Linked DNA regions of Homo sapiens: regions 2, 3 and 4 are each linked to region 1. The links are contacts of gene promoters, found by promoter capture Hi-C in human tissues and cell types (Jung and others, 2019). All regions are on one chromosome and are shown on one strand. Each heading gives the region's core, a stretch centred on a gene start or on the middle of the fragment in contact. The rest is flanking DNA. Distances are from core to core; before and after follow the strand shown.

Region 1 (4,769 bases), core at 753-3,252:
CACCCCAGAATCACTCTCTTCCTCATGCTCCTGGCTCTTCTCTCCTCTCCTGGGTGCATCTCCAGCTACTGACTCGGAGATCTGACTGCTGAGAAAAAGGAGCCAAGGGGGATGGTCTTGTACCATCTGCCTTCCCAGAACCCACAGTGAGCCCCCATCTCTGCCCTTGACAGAGTCCCGCCTTCGGCCCCAGAAGCAGCCATGCCCCGTCCCCGAGAAGTTCCTCCTAGAGATTCCCATGTGGCTCAGGAGAGACCAGATAACTAGCCTGAGGCTGGAGAGTGTGGATGGATCCCAGGCAGCCACAGGCTCTACGATCTGTCACCTCCTCCTCCCTGCCAGGCTTCCCACCAATGGCCCAGCCAGCCTGCCTTCTCCCGGAGGATGGAGAGAAGCCTAGAGACCAGCCTGTCCAGTCCCTCTCAAGGCTTCTCCACACGGTCCTTCCTTGGATCTTAGAAGGGAAGGGACTGGGCTTCTGTGGCTGAGACCAGGGTTTTTGAACTCCAGGTTCTTGTGCTGAGACCTGGAGGGGCTTTGAGTGCTGTCTGCGGCAAGAGCAGCAGCAGCGTCTCTGGAGGCTGCTACTAAAGATTCCACCTGGAGAAAGCATTCAGGGAGCAGTTTGGCTCACCCTGTCCAGATGGCTACCTGGAATGCACACACATGCTCACACATATATGCAGCATGCACACCTTTTGGCATTTGCCTTTTTCATGAAATAATTGCTGGAAGGCTCCTTGGATTAGGTAACCCAGCGTTCCTTCCTGTCCCCTTGGGGCTGGGGGCGGGGGAGAGAACCAGCATTTAGCATCTGTCAGGCTGCTCCAGTTCCTTTGGGGCAATGATGGCCAGTCCAGGAGGGTTTGTGGGCTCCAAACAACCTTGGGAGCAGAACATGATATGAACAAGCCTTTCAGACTTCTCCTTCCTGCAGGTCAGCTGGCTATGCATGCCCAGCCTCTGGGCCTCTTTCAGGCAGGCCAGGCTTGGGAAAAAGAAGGCCAATTAGGAAAGGTTTTTTGCACAAAGGAGGATATGTTCTCATTTTTATTTTAAATCAGCTTTATGATATAGCGAAAACTTAGAGTTAGCTTTGCCCATCATCCCATCGTCCTAAAGCAACACCTGTTTCCCTTCTTCCCTTTTCTGGTGATGGTTTGGGGTGTGCATTTGGAAGGGGGAACTATCTGGGTTCAGCCATAAAGAGCATTGAGAAGGAATAGGGGTAAGACCCCTGGCCTACGGGTAGAGGCCAGTGACTGAGACTCTCATTGCGGGAGGGGGCGATTAGTCGCAAAGCCGCCCATTCCAGGATTTGGAGATGCAGCTCCAGCACACCCTTCTTTCTCTGTCTGCCCTTAGCCTCTCCAGGATCTCCTAACGGAGGCCCCTTGGTGGGTCGGGAGCCTCTACCGACCACTAGTGGGAAGGGCACGAAGATCTTGCTATACAGAGTAGGACTGGGAGGGGACAGCGCGTAGTCGCAGAGTCAGGGAGGGGACCTCACCACCTGTCTCCTCCCTGAGGTCTTAGAACAGATACAAGAAATTCCAGGCGAAGGTCCCACAGGTGAGCGTGTGCCTGCGAGAGCCGTGGCCGCTGCATAGGGAGGGCCCCGCGGAGTGGGGCGGCAGCTGTGGGAGCTGTAGGTGTCCCCATTAGCCCGGGAGTCTCCGCCCCCGGAGGAACCTGGGCCTTGCGGGTGAGAGTCCCGAGCGAACGCGTCAGCCCGGGTGTGCTCTCTACGGTCCAGGGGGGCCAGGGCCTTCTTCGGGTGGGCCCGCCGCCCCTCCCGCAGGCCGCACGCCGCTCCTCCGGGGTCGCAGGGCTCAGTTAAGAGCCGGGGAGGGGAGAGGCTGGGCGAGCTCTCCCTCCGCACCGTCCCGCTGGGCTCCAGGGCAGGGGGGTGTCCCGGAGTCGTCCCCGGCTCCGCCCCCGAGGCCCCGCCCCGCGCCCGCCTCCCCGGCAGCCCCTCGAGCGAAGCCAGCCACGGACGGCCAGTCGCGGCCCGGAGCTGCGGAGCTCGGATCTTCTCCCCCGTCTGGCCCGCTCTCGACCCGCGCGCTCTGCTGGGCCATGGAGCCGGCCCCCGACGCCCAGGAGGCGCGCACTGTGCGCGAGGCGCTGGGCCGCTACGAGGCGGCGCTGGAGGGTGCGGTGCGCGCGCTGCACGAGGACATGCGGGGGCTGCAGCGCGGCGTGGAGCGGCGAGTGGCAGAGGCGATGCGCCTGGCCGGCCCCCTGGCGCGCACGGTGGCCGACCTGCAGCGGGACAACCAGCGGCTGCAGGCGCAGCTCGAGCGCCTGACGCGCCAGGTGGAGGCGCTGGGCTTGGCCAGCGGGATGTCCCCGGTGCCCGGCACTCCCGGCACGCCCAGCCCCCCGCCCGCGCCCGGGGTTCCCGACCGCGCGCCCCGCCTGGGCAGCGCACGCTTCGCCAGCCACGCCACCTTCTCGCTGTCCGGCCGCGGCCAGGTGAGCCCGGGGGAGCGCGTGCGCTGGCGCCAGGGAGTGGGGCTCCGAACCGGGTGCCGCCCCTTCGCCCCGACTGCCTGCCTCTGCTCGCGTCTGCGGGGTTGGGGCCTTCACCGGCCGCTCGGACTAGGTGATGGGGGTCCTGCCGCCCCTCCGGAGTTGGAGAGGGCGGGGGGAGGACCGCTGAGCCTGCCAGCTGCACCTGTCTTGGTCCTCCGCCCTGTTTTAGAGCCAGGCTCTGTTTGCTCAGAGTCCTGTCTCCCTCTCTCCTCTGTCCCATGACATCAACGGCTTGGGCGCCGAAGTCCGGCCCCTGACTGTTCAGCACTGCCTGGAGCCACGCGGGGCATGTTGGAATGGTCGACACCCCTGCCTGACCCCCACCCTCCATTCACGCTCCCCTGCGTTGCCGCTTCACTGAGGCCTGACGGCTCTGGTTATTGATTAACTCAGATTGAGAACTCAGGCCCCTGGATGGGTGGGGAGGGGGGTCGAGGGGGACGCGATCAGCAGCGGCTTTTGGGAACTCTCCATCGCAGGGGGTAAATCCCTTACCGTGAAGGGAGAGAGGTGGAAACCCGCCTTGAGCCGTGTCTAGATTCCTCGGGTCAGTGACTAGCCAGAGGCCCACACCACGTGGGGATAGGGCGGAGGCCGACGTGGACCAGTCACTACCTTGCGCATGGGCCACCCAGAGCAGTTAGAATGTGTCCATGGTGTGTGCAGTGGCCCTTGGGTGGGATTTTCCATCCTGATCAGGCATGTGCTCTCGGGTTGGGTTCCCAGGATCTGGGGCTGTGTAGCCTGCACCTGCTCCCTCCTTGGTGCAATCCCTGGGGCTCTCAGATTTCCCGCTGTGGGCTGGGCTGGACCCTAGGGGGCCTGGAGGAGGGTATCAGATTGGGCCTTCCCCCTGGAGGTCCCATCCAGGGTGGGAGATGGCCCCAGACCAAGTTTGGGCAGCCAGAGATGTTTTGCTCCAAACACAGTAGTTAGCCCCTTCTCAGTGGGTATCTCAGCAAGGCTTTGTGCTGGGGGCCTGGGGCTTGCTGCTACTGGTGCAGATGAGGGTGGGGTGGGGGCTGTGCAGGAAGCCTCAGAAAGGCTGAAAGTACTCACTGGTGAGTGCAGCCTCGAGGTATGCGAGTGGAGTGGGCAGTGGCGAATGCCCCTAGTGTGCTGGGCAGAGGAGTTGGGCTTTGCCCGGCCTGTAAGAAGTTCTTAAACATGTCATGGTAGCAGAACCCGGGAGTGTCCCAGTGCTCCGTGTGAAATGTCTGGAAATGTGGATACACTTAAGTCTGTCTTATGAACATGACACTCTACGTGACCATGGTCTAAAATCACCACTGTGAGCTCACACGTGCCTCATCAACTGTGTCATCGGTTGTTTCTGAGGTTTTATTTGAACATGCATTTGCTATTTGTCTGCTCATAGCAGCAGCTGTCCAAATTAAAAAAAAAAATGTCAGGTTCACATATACATGTAGATGTGTGTGTACACACAAAGAGAGAGAGAGAGAGAGAGAGAGAGAGGGAATTCTCTCCAGTCGTGATTTTTGTCAATGGAGATTAGCCATTGTTCACTGGCACCAAGCTAGTCCACTAGGTTAGGAGTTGGTGGATGAAGCTCAGGATGAGGGTCTTCTTTGTGTCTGGCAAGCCCTCTTCGGGGTGGATGGAAGGTGGAGGGTGGCTGGAGGTGGGTAACTTGATTGTGATGGTCCAAGGAGAAAGGAAAGGTCTGAGCTGGGCCGTGGGCCTTGGTGTGTAGAGGGGCTGCCTTGGACAGGGTTTCAGAGGGGGAATGAGCAGATGGGGTAGTCTCAGAGGGGAGCTCTGACTTGGGGGACTGCTGGGTCACAGATCTGGGGTGAGATGCTGGGTTCCACCCGGGTCGTGCTGAACATGAGGGGACTATGGGAACTCCAGGTGAAGCTGTCCCAGAGCAGGTGGATTCATGGATCTGGTGCTCCACACAGTGAGCAAGCCTGGAGATTAGGGAGCTCTCTGGGCAGAAGCAAAGAGTCTGAAGGAATTAAAAACCAGACCGGGGAACTGCCAGGGAGTGAGGAGGACCTGAGTGCACTCTCAGCAAACCAGAGAAGGAGCCCTCCTGGAAGAAGAGGCTGGGGTCAGTGAAGATGCGTCGGCCTGTTGGGGAGTGAAGATGGAGACCCAGGCACCCAGGGGCATGAGCAGCAAGGGTAGCTGAGCACTGTGGGTGGAACATGGCTATGGTCCCCAGTTGGGTTAGAGGCTCTGCACCCCTTGAGCCCTGGCTCCCGGGG
Region 2 (4,769 bases), core at 1,338-3,837, 380 kb before region 1:
ATATATATATATATATTCACCCCACACAAAGAAGCTATTTAGAAATTACTAGAAATAGAAAATTAATAAAGTTTTACATTAAAAGAAAGCCCAGAGGGTACATAAAGGAAAAGGACAACTGATATCAGAAGAGCAGAACAAAGGGAGGGAACAGAAAATGTCACAATCACCGTTTATAAGGTTTCTGTCAATAAGAAAATGGTTAACACATTTTAGAAAGATTTCAAATCATCAGAAACAGTTAAAATAAAAGCTGGTGCTTAAAAGTTTCAGTTACTTCATCACCTCATTCACTGACACTGCCAGGTAAATGAGGCATGACTATTGACTATTACAATCCGTCCATATAAAAATATTCCTAACAAAAAACTTCACACTAAAAAAATCCATATATAATATTTCTTTCAATGCAGCTTCTTGATGGTTTTATTCAGCCAGTAACCTTCATTATTCAATTAATACAAACCATATTTCATGCTGCTCCAGTTGGTGGCATCATTTTCAAATTTACTAAAAATAACAGGAACAATCTACTGAAGAAACTCATCGGCCAGGCGCAGTGGCTCACGTCTTTAATCCCAGCACTCTGGGAGGCTGAGGCGGGCGGATCACCTAAGGTTGGGAGTTCAAGACCAGCCTGACCAACATGGAGAAACCCAGTCTCTACTAAAAATACAAAATTAGCCGGGCGTGGTGGCAGGTGCCTGTAATCCCAGCTACTCAGGAGGCTGAGGCAGGAGAATCGCTTGAACCTGGGAGGCAGAGGTTGCAGTGAGCCGAGACCGAGCCATTGCACTCCAGCCTGGGTGACAGGAGCGAAACTCCGTCTCAACAACAACAACAAAAAAAAAAAAAAAAAGAAAGAAAGAAAGAAAAAAGAAACCCATCAACTGATGTTGGTTATTAAGGTAAAAAAGTTCAGGAAGAACTGTTTTTATAAAGTGAAGACTCATCTTCTTGCTCAGATCAGGCTAATCCAAGGAGATGGCATCCCTCTGGCCAAACATGTGCCCCCTGTGGACTCCCCCAAGACACTGCCTGCCTGTTCCACTCTTTAGATAAAATGACTGGTATACTTGGTTATTAGGATGATCACTGACTATTTTGTTGACAGATTCTAATGTGTGCTCAGACTAAACCAAAATCTCATATATTAAAGACTTTCACTCTTTAACAGTTAAAGTGAAAAAAACTCCTACAGGAACTGGACCTGGTTATGGCATTTCCAACGCAGGGGCAAGCGATGAATGGCAGGGTTGACCCCACCATTCCCCTGGTAATCACTGCTGGGTGTACTACTAACATTGCCTCGCATTCTCTGAACAAACCAATAAAGCAAAAGTAATTCCCACTTTATGGATAAGGAAGACGTAGAATGTGACTTGTCCAAGGCCACAGAGTAAACAGATGAGCTCAGATTCAAACCTTGGTGAATACCAGCTTCATAAAGCCAGTGCTCTGTCTACCGTAATATGCAACACTCTAAAGTTAGCAAAATCAAGTTTATTATACCCACGCTGTAATCCACATACTTGCAAGCAATTAATAAACTCAGAGTGGAAGGTTAAATCATCTGAAAATAAACATCAAAAATGTATCACTAATTCTTGGCAATTCTTGTATCTAAGCAATCACCAAAATATTTAATAACTCAAAGATGATTTATCATCAAACATAAGAATTAACTCCCTGGGAGGAAAGAAACAAAATTCTCAGATTTTTTTTTTTTAGTAACAGGGTATCTGTTTCCAAAATAAACATCTCAGACACGAAACAGTGTGGGAAAGAATCATTCCCTACGTGGTGGAGATTTCCCCACTGAATCACACTCAGTGCTAAGCACCCGCTGGCTTTGCACAGCACATAACGGTGCTTGAGGAAGATGCATCTGCTCTTGACACTGACATACTCGAAGGATTTCCTACCCAGTGATGAGCAAAATTTTCCTCTCTACCAGCCAGCAAGCTCAGCACTCCAGCACATGGCTTATAAGGATACTTGTATTAAAACCTTGGCCCAAAAAGGACAAAGCTGGCACAGGACCACATCTTGATGTAACTACATTCCACCAACTAGGAGCAATTTGTGAATGGCAAAAATGTAGCACAGACAATAATAGTATAACAATGCATCATCAAAAGGGGAAAATATAGATGATTAAGATGGAACGAAACAAGTAGATTCTCTCTTTGATGTCTACGTGTAAGTAAAAAAAAGTGGCCATGGCAATGCACTTCAATCAAGTCAACCATCCCTCCACAAAACTAACGCTTTGACACTTTGGAAAGCTTTCATTTCTCACTGGAACTCTACCTCTATACAGATTTCACTCTGTCTAAAATGACCATTGCAAAGCAAAATCAGCCCAGATCCATTTGGGACTCATGAATTAGTAAGACTATGGAAAAAAACAAACAAAAACCTAGTATTTTTTTTTTCCTTTGACAAGTTAATTCATTAAGATTAAAATGTTCTGGGAGGACGCGGTGGCTCACGCCTCTAATCCCAGCACTTTGGGAGGCCAAGGTGGGTGGATCACCAGGTCAGGAGATCGAGACCATCCTGGCTAACACGGTGACACCCCGTCTCTACTAAAAATACAAAAAATTAGCTGGGCGTGGTGGTGGGCACCTGTAGTCCCAGCTACTGGGGAGGCTGAGGCAGGAGAATGGCATGAACCCAGGAGGCGGAGCTTGCCGTGAGCCAAGATCGCACCACTGCACTCCAGCCTGGGCGACAGAACAAGACTCCGTCTCAAAAAAAAAAAAAGATTTAAATGTTTTGTTCTCAAGTCTATCATTTCTGTATTCTTCCAACTATTAACAATGCATTCAAAATATAGCTACAATTTCAAATAACTCTGCTAGAACAAAATGAAACTCTATCAATTTATCATAATAGAGGCCTAGCCTGTTAAAGTGAAAACCCTGAAGCTAAGAACACGTTTCAAGGTTTATGGTTTTGCTACTATCCTTGTATCTGTGGTAGAATACAAAAGCAAAACCTTCCTAGCACAATTCCTGGAGAAAGCCATCCATTGAACAAGCAAACATATCAAGTGCTTACAAGTAAAAGGTACTTCTTCACACAAGTACCATCTTTGTAGCCTTTCTTTCTGGGGCCCTGTTGGCACGGTGAATGGCCAAACTAACACGGCATAGGCAACAGCTCTTGAGTGCTTCCTCTGACCCAATGATCAAATTCTAGATCATGTAGCCTGTGAGTACAGACTACAGAAGCCTTTGAGAATTTTGGGAACAAGGTCAGAAAGTCTTCAAAAATTACTCGGATAAAAATAAAATTGCCTGCAGGGAAACATACACACTTCTTCCTACCTCTTTGGATTCCTTTGTGTAACAAGCTCCAGCCACTCTTGTCCACCATGTCCACATCAGCTTTGTGACTAACCAGCGTGGTGGCAATACTCTCCAGTCGTCGTGAGAGGGCTAGATCTAATGCCAGATCTCCGTTATGATCCGCTTCATTCAGCTTCCCAGGGAGCTACACAAACAAGTTTGTAAATTAGCGCCCAGTGAGTAGAGAATACGACCTATTTTAATTTCTCCCACCTTGACCCTTAAATATCATCTCTTATACAAATGTCAAATTTAAGTGCTCCAACACTGCTTACTCCCCAAATTCAACTTTATTCACAAACTTCTATCAGGCTTCCTCAGGGTACATGTTTTCAGGGAGTACAGAATTAATGGGGACCACATAGCCAACATAAACAATGTGGGAGACGATTAAAGGCCACCAGGAAAATGTGGACAGAGTGCTGTGGGGCACGAGTGCCAGGCAGAGGCTCAGAGAGTTTTACGGTGAACAGCTAATGTTTTCATGAAAGGCAGTGGCGTTCCTATTTCATTCTTCCCAGCAGTTTAATGTCTCCCCATACACTGGACACCCGGGATAAAACATACTTCGCTCCCATCTGTCAAGAGCCATTACATTTCTTTCAAGGTCATATGGTGGGCAGAATTATCACCCCCCCCAAAGACGGACATGTCCTAATCCCCAGAACCTATAAACATACCACGTTACATGGCAAAAGGCACTTTGAGGATGTGATTAAGGACCTTGTGATGGGGACAGTATCCCAGATTATCCAGGAGGCCCGACCTATCTAACCACAGAGGGCCCGACCCATCTAACCACAGAGGGCCCGACCCGTCTAACCACAGAGGGCCCGATCTATCTAACCACAGAGGGCCCGATCTATCTAACCACAGAGGGCCCGATCTATCTAACCACACAAGTCCTTCAAAGTGAAAAAGGGAACCAGAAGAGTAAGTCAGAGAGATGTGACATGAGAAGCACCTGACCCACCACTGCTGGCTTTTAAGACAAAAGCCGGGGGCTATGAGCTAAGGAATGTGTGGAGGGCTCTAGAAGGTGGGAATGGCCCTCGGCTGACAGCCAGCAAGAAAATGGGGACCTCGATCCTGTAAGTGCAAGAATCTGAATTCTGCCAAAGATCCAAATAAGCAGGAAATGGATTCTCCTCTTGAGTCTCTGGAAAGAAGCACAGCCTGCCGACATCCTGATTTTGGGCCAGTGATTCCTGTCCTAGACTTCCAACCTACAAAACTGTAAGGCAATACATTTGTGTTGTTTTAAGCCATTAAGTTTATGGTAATTTATTATAGCAGCAAAAGTAAACTAACACAGATTTTGGCACCTAAAAGTTAAGAAGCGTTTAAAAAAAAAAAAAAACTACCTAAAAGCATTTAAGAGGTTTTTAAATTGGGCAATGGGCTAAGGCTGGA
Region 3 (4,769 bases), core at 816-3,315, 330 kb before region 1:
CCATGTTGCTCAGGCTAGTCTCAAACTCCTGATCTTGTGACCTGCCCGCCTCGGCCTCCCAAAGTGCTGGGATTACAGGTGTGAGGCACCACGCCCAGCCCACAAATATGGATGTTTAAAAGCTCCCAGGTGGCCAGGCGCGGTGGCTCATGCCTGTAATCCCAGCACTTTGGGAGGCCAAGGCGGGCGGATTACGAACTGAGGAGATCGAGACCATCCTGGCTAACAGAGTGAAACCCCGTCTCTATTAAAAATACAAAAAATTAGCCAGGCGCAGTGGCGGGCGCCTGTAGTCCCAGCTACTCAGGAGGCGGAGGCAGGAGAACGGCGTGAACCCGGGAGGTGGAGCCTGCAGTGAGCTGAGATCGCACCACTGCACTCCAGCCTGGGCAATAGAGCGAGACTCCATCTCAAAAAAAGAAAAAACTCCCAGGTTAACTGTACTGTGCAGGGTTCTCCAGGTTGAGAACTATGTACTAATGGAACGAGGGAGAGAGGAAAGCACAGATGTGAGAGGTGTACAGCATCCGGGGGATTTGGTGACTGATGCAGATCTTGGGGGGAGTCGGAGATAACTTTTTGGTGACTGACTTGAGAGTCTGGCTGAAAAGTAGTGCCATTAATCATGAATATAGAAGAGAAAACCTGGTATAACTAGAAAGCAACATGCATGCTTATTTGAAATACTTTGCCTTCCCCTCTCTGTTCTGCAAGTTCCATTAAGGTTAAGGTTGTGTCTTGCTCATTTTGTCATCTCTGGCACAGTAGCTTGCACCTACCGTGAAATACGTTTTTCCTGAATGCAATTCAACTCTGCTAGGTTCGTCTGCCTCATGTTACAGTTGGTGGCATGACTTACACATCTTTCAAAAGCTCACCGTGTATAGCAGTGACAATTGGGCTGGTTTCATAAGAGATGCATAACAAATATTAGCTAACTAGCCATTTCCACCCCAAACTCCTGACTGGAAACACTTCCAACTTAGACATCACCACATAGAAGTATACTGGGCAAAGCAAATATGTCCAAAAGTGAGGTCAAAATACTTGTTCTCCAATCTATTCCTCCTCTACCTCTTAGCAGCTCAGCCATTTGTCTGAGTCATCCAGACCTAGAACTTGAGTCATCTTTGATTCTCTCTCATCAACATTCAACCAGGTTTCAAAAGTCCTGTCTTTCATACGTTCTGTGGTCTTTCTCCCATCAGTCCTCACCAGCCCCACAGCCTCTACCAAATGGCTCACCATCAACTGCTACAGCTTGCTCTCTGACTTCCTTTCTTCCCAATCCATCCTCTACACTGCAGTCATTTCGCCATGCCTCACACAATTCCTGTTCTGTCGCTACCGTGGCTGATTCCTTTCGGTAGTATCGCTCCATGAGTCTCAGAATAAAATCCAAATGCTGAACCAATGCCCTTAATAATCTGGCCCTTAACATACTCTTCCAACTTCACATCCCACTAATTCCTTCCACCTAGAACAGTGACCTCTCCTCAATCTCATGTCCCCATGTCCAAAGGAGGGCCATTTTTCAAAGCTCAGTTCAAGCAATGTCTCCTGCAACAAGACTTTCCCTGATTATCCAAAATACATTCCCCATTACTTCCTTAAAAAATCTCTCCCTGAGTTTTCAAAGTAACTCCTAAGCATTTTTTACCCTTCACCTTAAAATATAGTTTCTCATATACAATTTCTTTTATCTCCCCTCCTAGACTTCAGAACTCCCTGTGAATAAGCTTTAGTTCTGGCTATTCGTATTTAACTATCAATTACTTCTCCCTCTATACCCATTCCATGGTTATCTCCTCCTCCCGACAGTACCTTACCAGATGGAGTTCAATAAATACCACAGGTTCAACAGGAGATTCTGGGGACATAGCAATTTCTCATTTGGTTCAGCAAGGCTGTAAATCATGATAGTATCTCAAATTGCCTACAGCAAATCACCTTGCCAGTGACAGAATCCTGTGTATCTCAGCACAATTCAGTAGCTTTACTTTGACATAACCACTAATGGATAAATTTTATTTCTCAGTAAAAATAATTCACAAGGAGAAAGCTAACAGCTACAGCTGGTGACAGTAGTCACCAGGAAAGGGAGAGAAAAGAAAAGAATGGTATAAAAGGAACAGTCCTTAAGAGGTCTCTGGACTATATATAATTATCAATGACCTGGGACATTTGTTCAATAAGTAAAACAATAAACAGATAAATTTCAGAAGTAGGGCCGGGCGCGGTGGCTCACGCCTGTAATCCCAGCACTTTGGGAGGCCGAGGCGGGCGGATCACGAGGTCAGGAGATCAAGACCATCCTTGCTAACACGGTGAAACCTCATCTCTACCAAAAATACAAAAAATTAGCCAGGCTTGGTGGCGGGCGCCTGTAGTCCCAGCTACTCGGGAGGCTGAGATAGGAGAATGGTGTGAACCTGGGAGGGGAGCTTGCAGTGAGCCGAGATCGCACCACTGCACTCCAGCCTGGGAGACAGAGCCAGACTCCAACTCAAAAAAAAAAAAAAAAAGTGGAAACAGCAAAGTTCCTTCTTTCCTTATTTCTACCAGCCTCCACTAATGAAGCATTTTCTGGAACAGGACTATCCAAAGCACTTCTGGCAATGGTGCAAGTGTTCTATTAATCTGTGCTGTCCATTAGGGGGAGCTACTAGCCACATGGCTACTGAGTACTTGGAATAGGACTAGTACAACTGAGAAGTTAATTTTAAATTTTATTTAATTTTAATCAAATTTAAGTAGCCACATGTGGCTAGTGACTATTGTGTTGGTCAATGAATACCCAGGACATGGAATGTTTTCCCCATTTTGCTTGGGTTGTTGTCAAAAGTATTTTTCTGATCAAATTCCATCAAGCTAACAAAAGTTTATGATAAATTTTCTGTTCAATATACTATTTACAAAAAAATTACATTTTTTTCAATTTTTACTTTTACTGAGGAAAAGAAATGGAGAGTGATTTTAGAGGAGACTCAAGAGAAAGACTGTGCACCAGGGTGAAAGCATCAGGCGCTGTGGGAAAAGCATCAGTCGCTGTGGAAGAAACATTAGGCGCTGTGGAAAAAGGCTCTTCCTGCAACTGAGAAATATCCTAGGATTCCCACAGCTACTTGTGAGCTACAGATGATCCCCCTTTTAAAGCTGAGGACACTGAGACTGACAGCAATTAATTGACTTGCTTATGATCACAGCTTAAACTAGGATTTAAATCCATGTCCAGCTGCAGAGTCTGAGCTCTTAAACACTACATTTTATTTTATTATTATTATTTTTTGAGACAGTCTCTGTTGCTCAGGCTGGAGTGCGGTGGCGCGATCTCGGATCACTGCAACCTCCACCTTCCGGGTTCAAGTGATTCTCCTGACTCAAGTCTCCTGAGCAGCTGGGATTACAGGCACATGCCACCATGCCTGGCTAATTTTTGTATGTTTAGTAGAGATGGGGTTCCACCATGTTGGTCAGGCTGGTCTGGAACTCCTGACCTCAAGTGATCCGCCCACCTTGGCCTCCCAAAGTGCTGAGATTACAGGCGTGAGCCACCGTGCCCGGCCTTAAACATTGTATTTTAGTTGCTAAAACAAAAATGGGCTGGATGAAAAGTAGGTTAGGTAGCTCCTAGCAGACTTAGGTTATGCAGAGTATAATAAAAGGTGGACCAGCCAGTTTGCTTGACAAGAGGCTAAGGATGTATCCAGGCAACTTTTCTTGATGGCTAGCAGGTGATGCTCAATAAATTCATACATTCCTTCAACCACAGCCATGATTCTAAGCTGGGAGATACAGGAGTGAGCAAAACAGACCAAGTTCCTGCCCTCATGGGGTTTATATTCCAGTGAGGGATGCTCTCTAATGAGATGACAACTGAACAGACACTGAGTGAATAAAGTGGGTCAGTTGTGTGGAGAAACAGCGGAGGACTGTTCCAGGCCAAGGAAACTGCAGGGACAAAGACGCAGAGGTAGCAGCATGTCGGGCACACACAAAGAACGCAAAAAAGTCAGTGTGGCAGGGGCACAGTGAATGAAAGTAGGAAATAAGCTCGAAGTGTTAAGTGGGGCCCACACCCTGTTAATACTTAACAGAGAACTGGAATATATTTTAAGATTACGGAGAAGTGTGAGAGTTGGGCATTGAGGGGCAGGAGTATTAAGAAGAGTAGGAGAGACATGATCTGATTGATGTCTTAAAGGGAACACTAGAAACTGTGAAATTAGGCTGTGAGAGAGCAAAATCTAGGAGGAAAAGTTAAAAGCAAACTTTTAATTGGAACCTTTTGAAGTAGTTCACTTACAAACGAAGCTTAGGGCTGGGAGCGGTGGCTCACACCTGTAATCCCAGCACTTCAGGAGGCCCAGGCAGGTGAATGGCTTGAGCCCAGGAGTTCAAGACCAGCCTGGACAACATCACAAAACCCCAACTCTACAAAAAATACAAAAATTAGCCAATGTGGTGGCATGCACATCTGCACTCCCAGCTACTTGGGAGGCTGAAGTGAGGGAATCACTTGAGCCTGGGAGGTGGAGATTGCAATGAGCTGTGATCACGCCATTGTACTCCAGCCTGGGTGACGGAGTGAGATCCTGTCTCCAAAAAAAAAAAAAAAAAAAAAAAACCCACAAATGAAGCTTAGATTAAGCAGGATAGCCACAGAGATGTAGAGTTGGGGAATAAAACTAATTTTAGGACAGACTTTAGCTAAATATATATGGTCAAATGAATAGCCATGGATAGATGGAAGGAAAGAAGGTTGTTCT
Region 4 (4,769 bases), core at 951-3,450, 270 kb after region 1:
AAGATCCCTTCAGGCCCAGGAGTCCTTATTTCTTCCTAAAAATTTTTGAGTGCCTACTATGAGACAGAGCCAGCCCCCTGTCATAGAGGTCAAAATATGCTTTATTTGTTCTCACACTGACTTAAACATATGAATATATTAAATGTGTAATTTACAGTGTTCTATATATAAGGAAAAGTGCATGTATGAGGTGGTGACTGTGTGTTAAGCTGGGAGGAGCTGACAGAAACGGGGGGTGCCAGTGGCCAGGGCGGGTGGTGTCTCAGAGCTGGTCTCGGAAACATCAGTTCCTACTGTGTAGAGAGATCTCAGGTTGGGCGCAGTGTTGGAGTGTGGGTATGGAGCCCAGCATCCATGGGAAGGACACAAAAAATAAAGGGAAGTTTCAGAAAAAGGTCTGGGCCCAGTACAGTGGCTCATGCTTGTACTCCCAGCACTTTGGGAGGCAGAGGTGGGTGGAGTGCTTGAGCTCAGTAGCTTGAGACCAGCCTGGGCAACATAGAGACCTCATCTCTGTTTAAAAGAGGAGAGATGGGGGAGAGAGAGGAAGAAGGAGGGAGGGAGGACGGGAGGGACTCTGAAGGACTATTTGATTTGAAATATGACCTTCAGAATATGTACACTCCAGAGACGGTTTCCTGAGTCTGCTAGTGCTGAGGAGGAAGAGCAGTCAGAACCAAATGGGGATTGACTTGTGAAGACAGGGAATTGTTCCTTAGGGACAGAGAGGAACCTGGAATGGGGGACCTTCCCCATCGCTCCCTGCAACTGCACAGACCTTGGAGACAGACTTGATTCAAACCCCAGTTCTGTCACTTACTACGTGTTCTTTGGCAAGTAACTCATACCCCTATGCCTCAGTGTTTGGGGGTATTTTTTGAGACGGAGTCTCACTCTATCGCCCAGGCTGGAGTGCAGTGGCGTGATCTCGGCTCACTGCAAACTCCGCCTGCCAGGTTCATGCCATTCTCCTGCCTCAGCCTCCCAAGTAGCTGGGACTACAGGCACCTGCCACCACACCTGGCTAATTTTTTGTATTTTTAGTAGAGACGGGGTTTCACCGTGTTAGCCAGGATGGTCTCCATCTCCTGACCTCGTGATCCGCCTGCCTCGGCCTCCCAAAGTGCTGGGATTACAGGCGTGAGCCACCGCGCCTGGCCTCGTTTTTGTATTTTTTAGTAGAGATGGGGTTTTGCCATGTTGGCTAGGCTTGTCTTGAGCTCCTGACCTCAGGTGATCCGTCTGCCTCAGCCTCCCAAAGTGCTGGGATTACAGGCCTAAGCCACCGCGAACCTGGCCCCTGTGCCTCAGTTTTGTCCTTTGTAAAATGAAGGTAACAAGACTCACCTAATAGGGATGTTGAGAGGATTAAATAAAAGGGATGTAAAGTGCTTAGTCTGGTAAATGCTCATTAGACAGGTGGTAGCTGCCCAACATCTCTTATTGCACAAAGTTCCCAGAAAGCGTGTCTCCTGGGGTTCTTTAACATTCCTCTCCCCCTGACTTAGTATTTTGTTTAAGAAAGAGAAAACCACCCAGTCTATTGATTTTAAGGTAAATGGCTGAGAGTGAGTCAGTGAGCCCCAGGTGTAGACCTGGAATTCTGTGGGCTTGGCTTCCCTTTCCCAGTCCTAGAGCCTCCTACCATCTCCTGAAAGTCTTCCAGCGTCACTGCAAGGAAGAGTAACTTCAAAATCTTCTATCTGAACACGAAACTCCTGTTTGTCCTGACTCAGGAATTCCGGCAATCACTGGGCAGTCACTCTGGCCCTGCGTGCTGTTTTCTGTAAAAGCTCTGGACCCACCCAGAGAAAGCATTCAGCCTGAGGGGAAAACCTATGCCTCACCCTTGGGGACACACAGCTTTGTTGGGATGTGAGAGACAAGACATTGGCACAGAAATGTATAAAGAGCTTTATTGAAAGGCACAGATTGAAGGCTGGGCGGCTCAGGATGCTGGGCTCCTTACTCTGCCTTGCCTGGAGATTTGAGATTCCTGCCTTGAGCCTTTGTGTGCTCCCCACCCCTGCTCCTCCCTTGGCTAACTCTTGCCTGTCCCTGTGGTCTCAGCGTGTTTTGTTTGTTTGTTTGAGATGGAGTTTTGCTCTTGTTGCCCAGGCTGGAGTGCAATGGTGCGATCTTGGCTCATCGCAACCTCCATCTCCTGGTTTAAGCGATTCTCCTGCCTCAGCCTCCCGAGTAGCTGGGATTACAGGCACCCGCCACCATGCCCGGCTAATTTTTTGTATGTTTAGTAGAGGTGGGGTTTCTCCATGTTGGTCAGGCTAGTCTCGAACTCCCGGCCTCAGGTGGTCCGCCCGCCTCGGCCTCCCAAAGCGCTGGGATTACAGGTGTGAGCCACCGCGCCCGGCTGGTCTCAGCTTAAACATCACTTCCTTAGCGAGCCTTTCCTGGCTCCCTTCCCATCTTGACCTCCCTTTAATCTTTCTTTTCTTCTTTTTTTTGAGACACTGTCTCCCTCTGTCATCCAGGCTGTAGTGCAGTGGCGCAAGCGTGGCTCACTGCAGCCTCCTTGAATCGTTCTGATAGCACTCTGTATTTTTTCATCAGAGTCTTTCACAGGTGTTGTGTAATTATGTCTTTAATGTCTGCTTCCTTGATTAGACTGTAAGCTCCATGAAGGAAGAAGGGACCATTTCTGTTTTGTTCAACGCCACGTTGTAGTATCTAGCAATGCCTCTACATAGCTGACACTCAGTGTTTGTTGAATGAATGCATGAGCTGGCTCACCAGGCCATAGATTTGGCATGAAAGGTGTCTGGGAAGGTTTCTTAGGATAAACAGGAGAGACAGGCCTGGTGAAAAGTTGAGTGAACATGTTTGCTCCATCCTGCTGGTCAGGAAGTTCCCCTTCTGTCTCACCTGCGTCTCTTCAGCTGTAATTTATCCTGGGTTGGTCCTTGGTGGGGCCAGAGAATATCTGGTCTCCACCCTTTGGAGAGTAACCCTGTTCTTTCTCAGAGTGTGATTCAGACAGTCCTTCCTCCCCTTCCTGCTGGCCCCCCCCGCCCTCTACCTGTTCTTCCTACAGCTGACTCAGCTTCACACCCTCTCCCTCTCCTTCCAGGATCTCTTTTCCTGTCCCCTTGTCCTTCAGAGCTTTCCTTCCTAAGTTTTCTCTCATGGCCTGTCATTGGTCTTCTGGAATTCGAAATCATATGGGTACAGGTCACAAGTTTTCTTGGTCATGAAGCTTCTCTAGTCTCTTCCTTGGGTTTGTGGACACCTGACTCCCACAGAAGGAGGCTGGCAATAAGATATAATGATCTGTTTGTGCTGCAATTGAAAACCAGCAGCAAGAAGCCTTATTATTATCCAACCCCTCATTACTAGTGTTGTCCTCCTCCGTTAGCTTGGTATCTGCCAGCCTGAACGGGCCTGGCATCTCCTTTCTGCCCCCTCCCACTGCCATGCTGTGCCCTTCCTTGCTCTCTCTGGTGTCTGCTTCCCAGGGACTGGCCCTCCTCCCTGCCCCTGTCAGCCTGCCTCCGAGGCCACAGATCTGGTTTTCCTCCCTTCTGTCTCACCTGCCTTCCTCTCAATTCTACTTTTTATCTTGTTTCTTCTCTCCTGAACTGCCACACTTCACCCTAAATCCCAGTAACGCCAACAGTTTTGGTAAATCACTTTTTGCCACAGTTTTGCCTTGCTTTGTGGGAGCCAGTTTCTTCATAATGACTCTATGCAAATTTGTAGCATTTTATGGATTTTAAAATGTTTCCACATCGGTGAATTCTTGTGAAATGGGCCTGGGTAGATAAGGAAAAGAACCTCCAAGAGGTTAAGTGATTTGCGGATTTGCCTAAATTATACAGAAGAGTCAGAACCAGTGCCCAGGCCTTCTGATTCTTAGTGCAGTAAACACTAAGCACCATCATTCCATTTCACCACACTCCTGTCTTGCTGTTGTCCTCAGCTAAGAAAGCCTACCCCTGAGTTACCCTCTTCCATCTTAGAGCCTTCCTGCTCGCTGTCTGCCCCCCTGCGATGGGGACTTCTTTGGCCCTTCTCACCCAGCCCAGCCTCTGCCCGTTTCCTTCTCCTTTCCACTGCGCTGAGCTCTTTTCTCCTCCGAGAAGCCTTCCCTTCATCTCTCCTGGCCCCATTGTCTCCCGACCTCTTTGGGCCATTATTAGTGTTCCCGTGTGGTTTTTGCCAACCACGTAGGAATTCCCTGCCTTAAGAAAGTCCACTCTCGGGCCGTGCGTGGTGGCTCACGCCTGTAATCCCAGCACTTTAGGAGGCCAAGGTGGGTGGATCACCTGAGGTCAGGAGTTCAAGACCAGCCTGACCAACAAGGTAAACCCTGTCTCTACTAAAAATACAAAAATTAGCCGGGTGTGGTGGCTTGTGCCTGTAATCCCAACTACTTGGGAGGCTGGGACAGGAGAATCACTTGAATCGGGGAGGCAGAGGATGCGGTGAGCTGAGATCACCCCACTGCACTCCAGCCTGGGCAACAGAGTGAGACTCTGTCTCAAAAAAAAAAAAAAAAAAAAAAAAAAAACTAAGAAAGTCCACTCTCTGGTAAAACATTTACCAAGCATATAAATTATGAGGTGCTGATTCATATGACAAAAAGGAGATTCACTTTTAGTAGCTGCTCTAATGCATTCCACTTAAGTGAATATTCAAGGATTATTTTGGAAGGATGGAGATAATCCAAAACTAGTGTGAGAAACTGCTGCATTAAGGAAGGAGGGAGGTTTTTCTAGATAACTGCTGCATTAAGGAAGGAGGGAGGTTTT

What was found. The method cuts DNA at HindIII sites, captures the fragments that hold promoters and counts their contacts. A contact is called where the count stands out against the background at its distance.
Region 2: a fragment that was not itself captured here is called in contact with the fragment with the promoter of SMTNL2 in region 1 in 5 of the 25 tissues and cell types used here (adrenal gland, heart right ventricle, lymphoblastoid cells and 2 more).
Region 3: a contact is called between a fragment that was not itself captured here and the fragment with the promoter of SMTNL2 in region 1, in 3 of the 25 tissues and cell types used here (heart left ventricle, hippocampus and lymphoblastoid cells).
Region 4: a fragment that was not itself captured here is called in contact with the fragment with the promoter of SMTNL2 in region 1 in 1 of the 25 tissues and cell types used here (IMR-90 fibroblasts).

The regions. Positions count from the first base shown.
Region 1 is chr17:4,582,527-4,587,295 of GRCh38, forward strand. It overlaps SMTNL2 (smoothelin like 2), which reads left to right and starts at 2,003. Exons shown (of 8, transcript NM_001114974.2): 1 at 2,003-2,478. The coding sequence starts at 2,080. RefSeq lists enhancers at 1-329, 1,122-1,741, 1,742-2,361, 2,982-3,599. The HindIII fragment of the contact is 15,336 bases long and covers 1-4,769 here.
Region 2 is chr17:4,202,986-4,207,754 of GRCh38, forward strand. ANKFY1 (ankyrin repeat and FYVE domain containing 1) reads right to left here. Exons shown (of 25, transcript NM_001330063.2): 7 at 3,336-3,501. Among named protein-coding and RNA genes, the nearest start is that of ANKFY1, 59 kb to the right of the region's middle. RefSeq lists a silencer at 4,065-4,265. The HindIII fragment of the contact is 7,321 bases long and covers 1-4,769 here.
Region 3 is chr17:4,256,016-4,260,784 of GRCh38, forward strand. All of the region lies in intron 1 of ANKFY1 (ankyrin repeat and FYVE domain containing 1), which reads right to left. Among named protein-coding and RNA genes, the nearest start is that of ANKFY1, 5.6 kb to the right of the region's middle. The HindIII fragment of the contact is 5,645 bases long and covers 1-4,769 here.
Region 4 is chr17:4,847,500-4,852,268 of GRCh38, forward strand. The region is part of intron 1 of MINK1 (misshapen like kinase 1); the gene reads left to right. Among named protein-coding and RNA genes, the nearest start is that of MINK1, 17 kb to the left of the region's middle. RefSeq lists enhancers at 1,451-2,166, 2,167-2,880. The HindIII fragment of the contact is 4,927 bases long and covers 1-4,664 here.